Regions from separate parts of the Homo sapiens genome. Here region 2 is linked to region 1. Evidence: promoter capture Hi-C in 16 types of primary human blood cells and fetal thymus (Javierre and others, 2016). All regions are on one chromosome and are shown on one strand. Each heading gives the region's core, a stretch centred on a gene start or on the middle of the fragment in contact. The rest is flanking DNA. Distances are from core to core; before and after follow the strand shown. Region 1 holds the start of LOC105376548 (a long non-coding RNA gene). Region 2 holds the start of ZBED5 (zinc finger BED-type containing 5).

Region 1 (4,472 bases), core at 1,577-4,076:
AGTCATTTTGTAACCTAATATTGGAAGTGATATCCCATCATTATTCATCAGCATCCCTCACTCAAGGTAGAGGGGATTTTACAAGAACGTGAACACCAGGACAGGGCATCACTGGGGCCATTTTGGAGGCTGCCATCACATTCTGAAACCTGTTTTCCCACACACATGTCCCAATACTTCTCTCTCCAAAGGCACCATTAGCCATAACCTCTGAGGCATTTGTCACTTCATCCCATCCCCTCCCTCAACCAGAGCCAAACTCCAAAGGCACTGAGTCTTTCAATCTTTGAGCAAGAAAATTATCTTAATAAGGGCTCTCAATATTCTATTTCTTATGTGAAGATTCTCTTTGTTCTTCCTAGAGCCCTCTAAAGTTTTGATTTCTTTAAACAGAGAAAGGGAAGCTTTTTTCTCTACCCATTCCCAAGAAAATGTAGAAGCCAAATTCTGTTTTAAATGTGTGACTTACTACTTGATATTTGACCTCTTCCTTCATCTTGTATTCAAGAAACTTGTAATTTCAGTAATGTTAAAGAGTCATGTCCTCTGACCTGACCCCAACGGGAGGGTGGCCCTACCATCCACTGCAAAGCTGAAACACATCTGACTAGGGTTTGCAGATTTCTTCTGCCAGGACTCACACTGGGCTCCAGCAGCAGTCAGGCTGAGAAGAAAAGAGTAAGAGATGCTGAGATGGAACAGCTGATAGCAAAGTGGGGACCAGTCTTAAGGAGAAGCAGAGAGTGGTGGGATGCAGTTAGACATAGGATGTCTGTAAACAATTAGACTTGGGACTCAGCGAGGAATCCTAGAGCTAACGATGTGTGTCATAATCCTAAATAAAAGGCAGTGGTCAGAGTTCAAAAGAAGTCAGAGGCAGTGGTAAAATAGCAGCTGGAATAATCCTGGAGACTTAATAAAGTACTGAGAGATAGGTGCTAGGATTAATGGGCAGCATGGGGCTCAGAGAGGTATAGCAATTTGCTTAAAGTCACACAGCCCAAAAGTGGCAGAGGTGAACATTGAAGGCAGGTCTGTCTGCCTCCAAATCTCACTGTCTCTGCAGTCTACCATACTGCTGCCTAGATGACTTCTTTGTCGTCTTCTTTTTTTAGACAGAGTCTCACTCTGTCACCCAGGCTGGAGTGCAGTAACATGATCATGAACCACTGTAGCCTCGACCTCCGAGGCTCAGGGGATCCTCCCACCTCAGCCTCCTGAGTAGCTGGGACCGCAGGTGGATACTACCACCCCCAAGTGATTTTTGTAGAGACAAGGTCTTGCCGTGTTGCCTAGGCTGGTCTCGATCTCCTAGACTGAAAAGATCCTCCTGCCTCTGCCTCACAAAGTGCTGGGATTACAGGCGGGAGCCACTGTGCCCGGCCTGCCTAGGCTTCTGACTATTGGTTGACCTCCCCAGCCTCCACTACAGATCCTGACTCCTTTCTGACCTCCTTGATGGGTTCCAGGCTAGCTGATGCCCAGGACAAGGAAGTGGCAAGGACTGATGGACAATGGGTGGAAGAGCAGCAGAAGACGAGCTTCATAGAAAACTATTTGCACGACCTCAGAGGTGTCCTCTGCCCAGGCTGGGGCCTCCCTCAGTCCTCAGAGATGCTGGGAGAGCCCAGAACCTTAGCGTGGTGGAGCCTGGCTGAGCCTGGTTGGGTCCTAATCCGCTTCCTACTGGTTGACGCCACGGCCGCAGATGCTGACTACGATGTCTGCAGGCAGGACCCAGCTAGGTGGGTCCGCCTTGCTGGCTGTGCGCTGCCTTCTCACTAGGGCCTGGAGTCTCCCTCGGCTTCCTCCCTGGGCCTCTCGCACCTGAATTCTCCCCTCCGGATGGTTGGCTGTAGTTGCAGCACTGTGCCTGCAGGGGGCGTGAGGTGTGCTGCCCGGGTTCCCCTGGGGTCCCTACCCGTCCAAGAAGAAACACAGTCCTCAGGCTGCTGACAGCTCTGAGCTGAGTCTGTCTCCAGAGATTGCCCTCAGATGAGCTCTCAGCTGAGTCTGTCGCCAGGGATTGCTCTCAGATGCCGAGAGCCACCTCGCCCGTCACATCCCCTTCCCAGGGGCTGTGCATCCAATGTCGAGTCAGTGCGGGGGATTAGAGGGCCGGGGTCCTCGCCCTACCTCAGTGCATCTCTGCAGGGCCGTACCAGCTCCCAAGCTTCCCTGCAGGATTGCGGAGGTCTTCGCTGCTTCTGCATCACTGTTTAGCATCTCCTTCTGTCCCATCCTATGCCTCTCACTACTCCCACGGGCGTGGAGTCTGAGAGCACTTCCTGATAAACACCGCACACACCGTTTCCGTTTCAGAGGTGCTTCCGGAAGAGGGACCTGCAACAACTCCTATCTGCTGTCTTGGGTTAACAACGTGGGATCCTTCCTGCCACAAGTCCTGTCCTGAGCCCTAGCTTAGCCAGGCCTCGTGTGCACCACATTCCCTAACCCCCTCCCCTGGGCTGGGTCCACGGCTCTGCCCCTGAGAGGGGGAATCAGGCAAGTCCAACCCCTCCAGGGTCCAGCCGTGAAAGATCCAAGGCAAGGCACTTGGCCACCATCACATAGCAAGGCCGTGGCCCGGAGTTCTCCTCTTCTGCATCCCGACATTTCTACTATGCTCTATGGCTTTTCTCTTTAACAAATATAATCCAGTCCGACAACCTTTCTTGATCTGGTACCCCTGCCCCTAGTATTCTTATTTTAGAGTTCTCAGCTTTCCCATCACCAGGGATATCTTTTGTGTTATTTCTCCATGCTCTGGAAAATCCTATCTGCCATATACCCTTCATTTGCAGATAATAATAAATTTGTTTTCATACTTTTATCATCAAAACCATATGTAACTGCCAATCAGAGCTTCGGATCCATAAGAGATAATCACAGTTTGTATAAATATTGAATTGATATAAATTGATGCTTGTTGCTTCATTTAGTTTGGCAGTGGTAGTGGGGTGGTTATTGAGAAAAACATGCGCAGTTTCCACGAGGAACTTCATTTGAAAATAGCACATAGACATCTGTGACTGTTTCAACTGCAGAGATAAAACAGGGCCTTGACTCCCCTACTCTACAGCATGAAGCTCCCGGAGCCCCCTGCTGGAAGGTGCATAAAGGCAACTTTCCTCTACCAGACACTGAAACCACCATCCCTGGGCTCTTGGTGCCATGGAAGCCTTGCGTGCTGGACTGGATGCCTTCTCGTCCACCATCCCTGGGCTCTCGGTGCCACGGAAATCTTGGATGAGGGTCTGGATGCCTTCTGGTTTAAGGGGAAACTGGGCAGGGCTCTCTGTCCCTGCCCCCACCATTAGCGCCCCTCCATTCTTTCGATTTTTGAAGTTAATACACTGGGGCAGAGAGAAAGTGGGCACCACTTAAACTGTGATTAGCCATTTATCCCTTAGTTGCCAGCTAAGCCCTTTGTAGAGTTTCCTGACAGCTCCTTAAAGCCAGATGATTTGGGGTCCCAGCAAAGCTTTTCAGTGGTAGTTAGAGCTCCAAGGTGGATTGAGAATGGCTCCTGGTTTCTCCAGGTCCTGTGTTTGTAGGCATGACATGTCCAGGTGTAGGGGTGGGTGTCTATGGCAGCTCTGCTCAGCACACCATCGCCGGCCCAGAAGCACTGACATCACACATCACAGAGCTGCCCTCAGCTGGCGAGCAGGGCCTGGGTGTGAGGTGGAGATCCTGGGCTCTCCCAAACATGCACCATAGAGCACCAGCTTCAGGTCTCATGGCAGCCTAATCTTTACCCAGCTTGCCTCCAAGATCCTGTTGGCAGGAGTGTGCACCAAACGAGGGGCAGAAAAATGATCTACATAGAGATGGAGGAGACAGAGCTGCCCAGGGAGCCCTGCCTTGTCTCAGCTGCAGCCTGGTGTGCTGAGGTCTCTTCCTACCCAACCTTCTGTAGACTTCTTTCTGTTCTCCCCTAAGTCACTCACACTCTGGAATCTTCCCAATGGACCTTGAGCATCATGAGGAGGCCAGACCTTGCAGGAGGGGGACCATGTGCCACAGAGCTGACCTGTCATTCCTTAGAGAGATGTGAGATGAAATTGTCCATGCCTGCCCCAGGGATCCTGTATGGGGGCGGGCGGTGGGGGGGGGGAGGCTGCACATGCCTATGCCAGAAACCAGATTATCAATTTCTTTTTCTGACAAAATGTTAGTCCATGGAAGATAAATTCTGCCTTCTGGCATATTATGTATATAATAATATATAATATGTACATACATATTTTTTATATGTGTGCATTTCAATTACTTAATTTTTAATGGGAATCATGAGATATGTATGATCTTTTCAAATAAGGCTTAAATTAAAATACTTTAAAGGTTTTAATTTAATGATAGGGACTAGGAAACTTGAACAAGGATTTAGGTTAAGAAAGTTGATGGAGCTGTTTTGAGACAAGTCATTGAGTGTACCAAAAAAGATAAATCGAGTTAAAAATATACTT
Region 2 (4,291 bases), core at 1,273-3,772, 300 kb before region 1:
TATGTAGTATTGTGAAATCTCTTTTAGCTTTTGATGCCTACTGTCATTAGATGTATTAGTTGTTGATACTATTATATATCTGAAGTCCCTTCAGGGCTAGCAACAATTCTGAAGAAGTGAATTAAACACACACACAGTTCCAAGTTTTGCGAGATACATAATTCTACTGTATCCTAAATGTTATGCGTTAACAATGAAGAATAAATTGTATATCAAAAGTTAGGTACTGTTTCTCTGGACTTAAATTATATAAACGTTTATATTATCCAAATTAAGACTCAATGAAAGTAATGTATATTTTTACAGATAACTCTGCATTCTATTTATACAACAGGTGACGACTTAACCAGGACCTAAAAAAAAAAAATAAACTCTCATTTAAGAGGTTTATTTCTCATATAATAAAACAAATCAAAATTAAAAGGATAATGCAATCTAAGGATTGCTAAAGAATACTATTAACTCTATAAATCAAGGCATACAAATTATGTCTGTCCAAATATAGCTACTTTTGATTTAAACTTTATAACCTGGCTATAGAGTAAGTTTTGTATTCTCATGTTAGATCTTGAGTCAAAATGGTTCTCCTATTAAGGGGTAGAGGATAAGATACCTGAAATAAGGTGTTCTCCTTTCTGTAATCCCTCTCTCCACCTTGGCAGCTTGAAATGCACTCTTCAAAAGAATAAAATTAAGGGATGGGGTGGGAAGGGGAGTAACCAAAAGCCTAGAATGAGAAAAATTAAAATTAGATACAGTAACAAGCAGAACTAACTATAAACCCGTAAGATGGGTTTATTCTTTCTGGATCTAAGCAGTGAAAATGATTCTTTACTGCAATGCAGATCTTGGACTGAAAGAGAAGACGCCTAGCATAGTAAAAATTCTAACATTTTCATCCTGTTCAATATCTTGGCAATTTAGATGCTTTGAGATGTTCCCCCACCTACTGACTTCATAGAAACATGTTAAAACAACACCACCACCACACTTTCTAGAACTTGAAACTAAGCCTAATTTTTAAAAGTACAACCTCATCAATGTCTCTAAAACTAGGTCTTGAATCTAAAATGGAATTATACATAGAACTATTACATGAAGCAGTTCTTTCACTACAATCATTTTTAGCCCCCCAGTGACCAATCTCCTCAGGTAAACAATGTCTAATGACTGATGATTGTTTACTGTATGCCAATTACTGCTAAATCCCTCATATAGATTATCTCATCTATGAAGACACAAGGATTATTAATAACCCCACTTTAGAGATAAACAGACACAGGTTAACACATCTCGCTAACACCTCTTGTAAGTGAAAAACCAAGTTCAGAGCCCAAAAAGTTTGACTGCATAGCCCATGTGTCTAGCCATTACTTGGGTGTTCCTGAATACTTTTAATTCCCCAACTACTAAAAAATCTCGTTACTAGGAGTTGGGTTATGCAGCGAAACGGATGAACAATGGATTATAACTGCCAGAAAGTCGAGGGTCTCATACTAGCAACAGCATAAAGCCCTGCTTCTTATTGGGAGCAAAAAAGCAGATTCTCCTTCCACAGTCTCCTTTTGGATTTTGCAACGGAGAACTCTGTGGAGCTGCTGGTTCACGTAAAAGATCAGGATCCCTCTCGTTGCCAGAGGACACAGAAGAGTAGGAAGCTTTTGTTTTCAGAAAGAAGGTCCTCAACCCCACCTCTTCGAAGGTGTTTCCCCGAATTTCTCGAGGACAAAGAATCTGGACTCCTTTGAGAGTAAAGTTTCCTTTCCACTCCCTGAAGAGCGGGGAAAACTTCCGTCTTTAGTCTCCTTCCGGTTAAACTGACAAGTATCACAATCCTTTCTCCCCTATCTTCGGGCGGTTCCGGCTGGGAACAATACCCTCAGGGTCAGGAGGACAGGATCTGAGTGCAGGCCAGCCAAAAAGGTGGGAACAGATGCTCCTTCCAACACCTAAATGCTTTTTTAAACGGTCACCTGGATGTGCAGCCAGGGCCAACTATCCCTCAGCTCCTCCCTGTCACAGGTGCGCGCTGCCCACAGATTGCCACGACTGGGGGGCTCCCTACCAGTCGCAGCCCACCCTCGCCTCAGGTCTTCTCTCGCGTCCCCGGGCGGCCGCCTGCGCTAACGACCACATGAAAACGTCTCAGCACCCAACACCATCTCTCTATTTCATCTCCATCAGCGATGGAGAGAACGGATTTTGCCGCGGCTGGGCTGCACAGCAGCGCCGCGGTCCACAGCAGAGCCCGCGACCGCCATCTTAGGCAGTTCCAGGAAGCGGCCATTTCAGAGCGCACCGCTTAGCCGCGGCGGCGGCTCTGCTTCTCACCTTCACCGAGGCCTGAACAGGGTCAACAGCCAGTCGTCGTGGACTGGAGGGGGAGGGGAGAGAGGGAGGGGAATGAAAAACAAAACAGAGAGGAAAGAAGGATTCGGGGACAGGGTGATGCTCTCAGCTCAGGGATATCGCCTAGGCCATCTCCATAGAGATCCGATTCGCGGCTGGCGCGGTCGCCGGTCTGAAGATAAATTTAGCACTCTAGAGCACCCGAACCCTACAATCTTCACGAGCGACTCTGCCGCCGCCCAATCAGCGCCAGATTTGCGTCCCGCCACCAATCCGCGCTGAGCAGCGGGGCGGGACCAAAGGAAAGGACCAAGCTCGGTTGAGGCGCGGCCCAGCCGCAGCCGCAGTCACAGCCTCAGCCGCAGCGGCCGTGCTACCTAGGTGATAGCGGAGCGGCTGGGTAGGAAGCAATTGTTCTCAAACTTCACTAGCCCCGTCGGCGCGGACGCTTGTCGAGAATGCAGATTCCTGGGTACTGCCAGATACGGTTGGTGATCTTGTAGGGCTGGAGTGGAAGCCATGAATCTGCATTTTCATCATTTCTGGCCCTCTGCCCGGGCTGGGGTGATTCACGGGGATTCGTAGTGGCCCCAAAGGAGCACGCAGAACCTCGGCTGCTGTGCATTTATCACCTCTTTTGTTCCCGGAGGCCGCACCCCAGGTCCAGTTTACACAGCTGCCAACTCCTTTTCTTGGTTCCCACTGGAATCTAGGAAGAAAACTCGCCCTTTACTTCTCCGCCCCACACCCGACGACGGAGTGTCTAGAGGTCTGGTCGGCCTTGGCTGTGCGGAGGGCTAGGCCTGACGAGCGGGCGCTGATGCGGCGCAGACCCCGCCGGACCTCTTGGTCGGCCCGGGGTAGGCTGGGGAGCCGCGGGAACAGGACTGGATAGGGAAAGCGGCACCGCAGCGTCCACGGGCAAGCTGAAAGTCCGCTTGATGTCTTTGCATCACAGTGGCGCCCTCCCCGCAGGAACGCCCGGCCGCCTGCACCGAACGTTTGCCTGCAGGGAACGGCCAACCCGCCCTGAAATACTCTTTTTGTGGGCTGCAGCTTTCGGGTATTTTAAGCCATGGTTCTGTGCCCTTCCTTGTTTTCAAAAACACCACAGCCAAAGGCTGCGGGTTGTGTGCTTTCATTTTGTGTTAAGTTCTGTGGTGGAGACCTGGAGTCTGTTTTTCCAAATAGGCACCTTGAAATAGATACGCTTCTTAAGCGGGGAAAGTACGAGTAGGTCCTATTATTTGCAATGTTTTAGCCTTTCCAGACTCCGTACAAATGACTAAATGAAGATTGGATCGTATTTTCAGGCACTGCACCAATGATAGAAAATTCTCAACTTGGGGTCAAAAGCAAGGGCAGCTTTCGTTTTTCTTAAATATGCTTCTGATCAAATATCTAAAGTGTTGAAAGAAACCTAACCCTTAATAGCACAATTTACAGGAGTGCATAATTTCCTAGGACTGACATTTAGTTCCAAATGTTTTAAAGTCAATTACAACATCATCTCACCCTATAGTAAGCTGTCCATATATTCTCATTATTATTTTTAAATTATTTCTATTAAATCAGCTTCATTTGAACTTTAACCATAAATGCATAAATCGTTTTTGGGAAGGGGGTACAGTCGCGCTTGAAGAGCAAGGGATTTTGTCATTGCGGGAGTTGTCTGGCTTCAGAATAATATTGGAATAATATATTTTCGTGTTTCATATTTTAGAAAAACCTTTTACATATGTGCTCCCAAACCAATCTTTTTTTATTTTTTATTTTTTTTATTATTATACTTTAAGTTCTAGGGTGCACAACTTGCAGGTTTGTTACATATGTATACATGTGCCATGTTGGTGTGCTGCACTCGTTAACTCGTCATTTACATTAGGTATATCTCCTAGGGCTATCCCTCCCCCCTCCCCCCACCCCACGACAGGCCCTGGTG

Evidence for each region. The method cuts DNA at HindIII sites, captures the fragments that hold promoters and counts their contacts. A CHiCAGO score of 5 or more calls a contact.
Region 2: a contact is called between the fragment with the promoter of ZBED5 here and a fragment that was not itself captured in region 1, in 1 of 17 cell types (naive CD4 T cells). The highest score is 5.7, in naive CD4 T cells.

Annotation. Positions count from the first base shown.
Region 1 is chr11:11,154,285-11,158,756 of GRCh38, forward strand. The region is part of intron 3 of LINC02752 (long intergenic non-protein coding RNA 2752); the gene reads left to right. LOC105376548 (a long non-coding RNA gene) reads right to left here and starts at 2,277. Exons shown (of 3, transcript XR_007062592.1): 1 at 2,137-2,277. The HindIII fragment of the contact is 1,311 bases long and covers 2,172-3,482 here.
Region 2 is chr11:10,855,531-10,859,821 of GRCh38, forward strand. ZBED5 (zinc finger BED-type containing 5) reads right to left here and starts at 2,523. Exons shown (of 3, transcript NM_001143667.2): 1 at 2,332-2,523; 2 at 614-727. It overlaps ZBED5-AS1 (ZBED5 antisense RNA 1), which reads left to right and starts at 2,687. Exons shown (of 3, transcript NR_034137.1): 1 at 2,687-2,836. RefSeq lists enhancers at 2,189-2,568, 2,722-3,359, 2,869-2,958, 3,360-3,995. The HindIII fragment of the contact is 21,619 bases long and covers 1,657-4,291 here.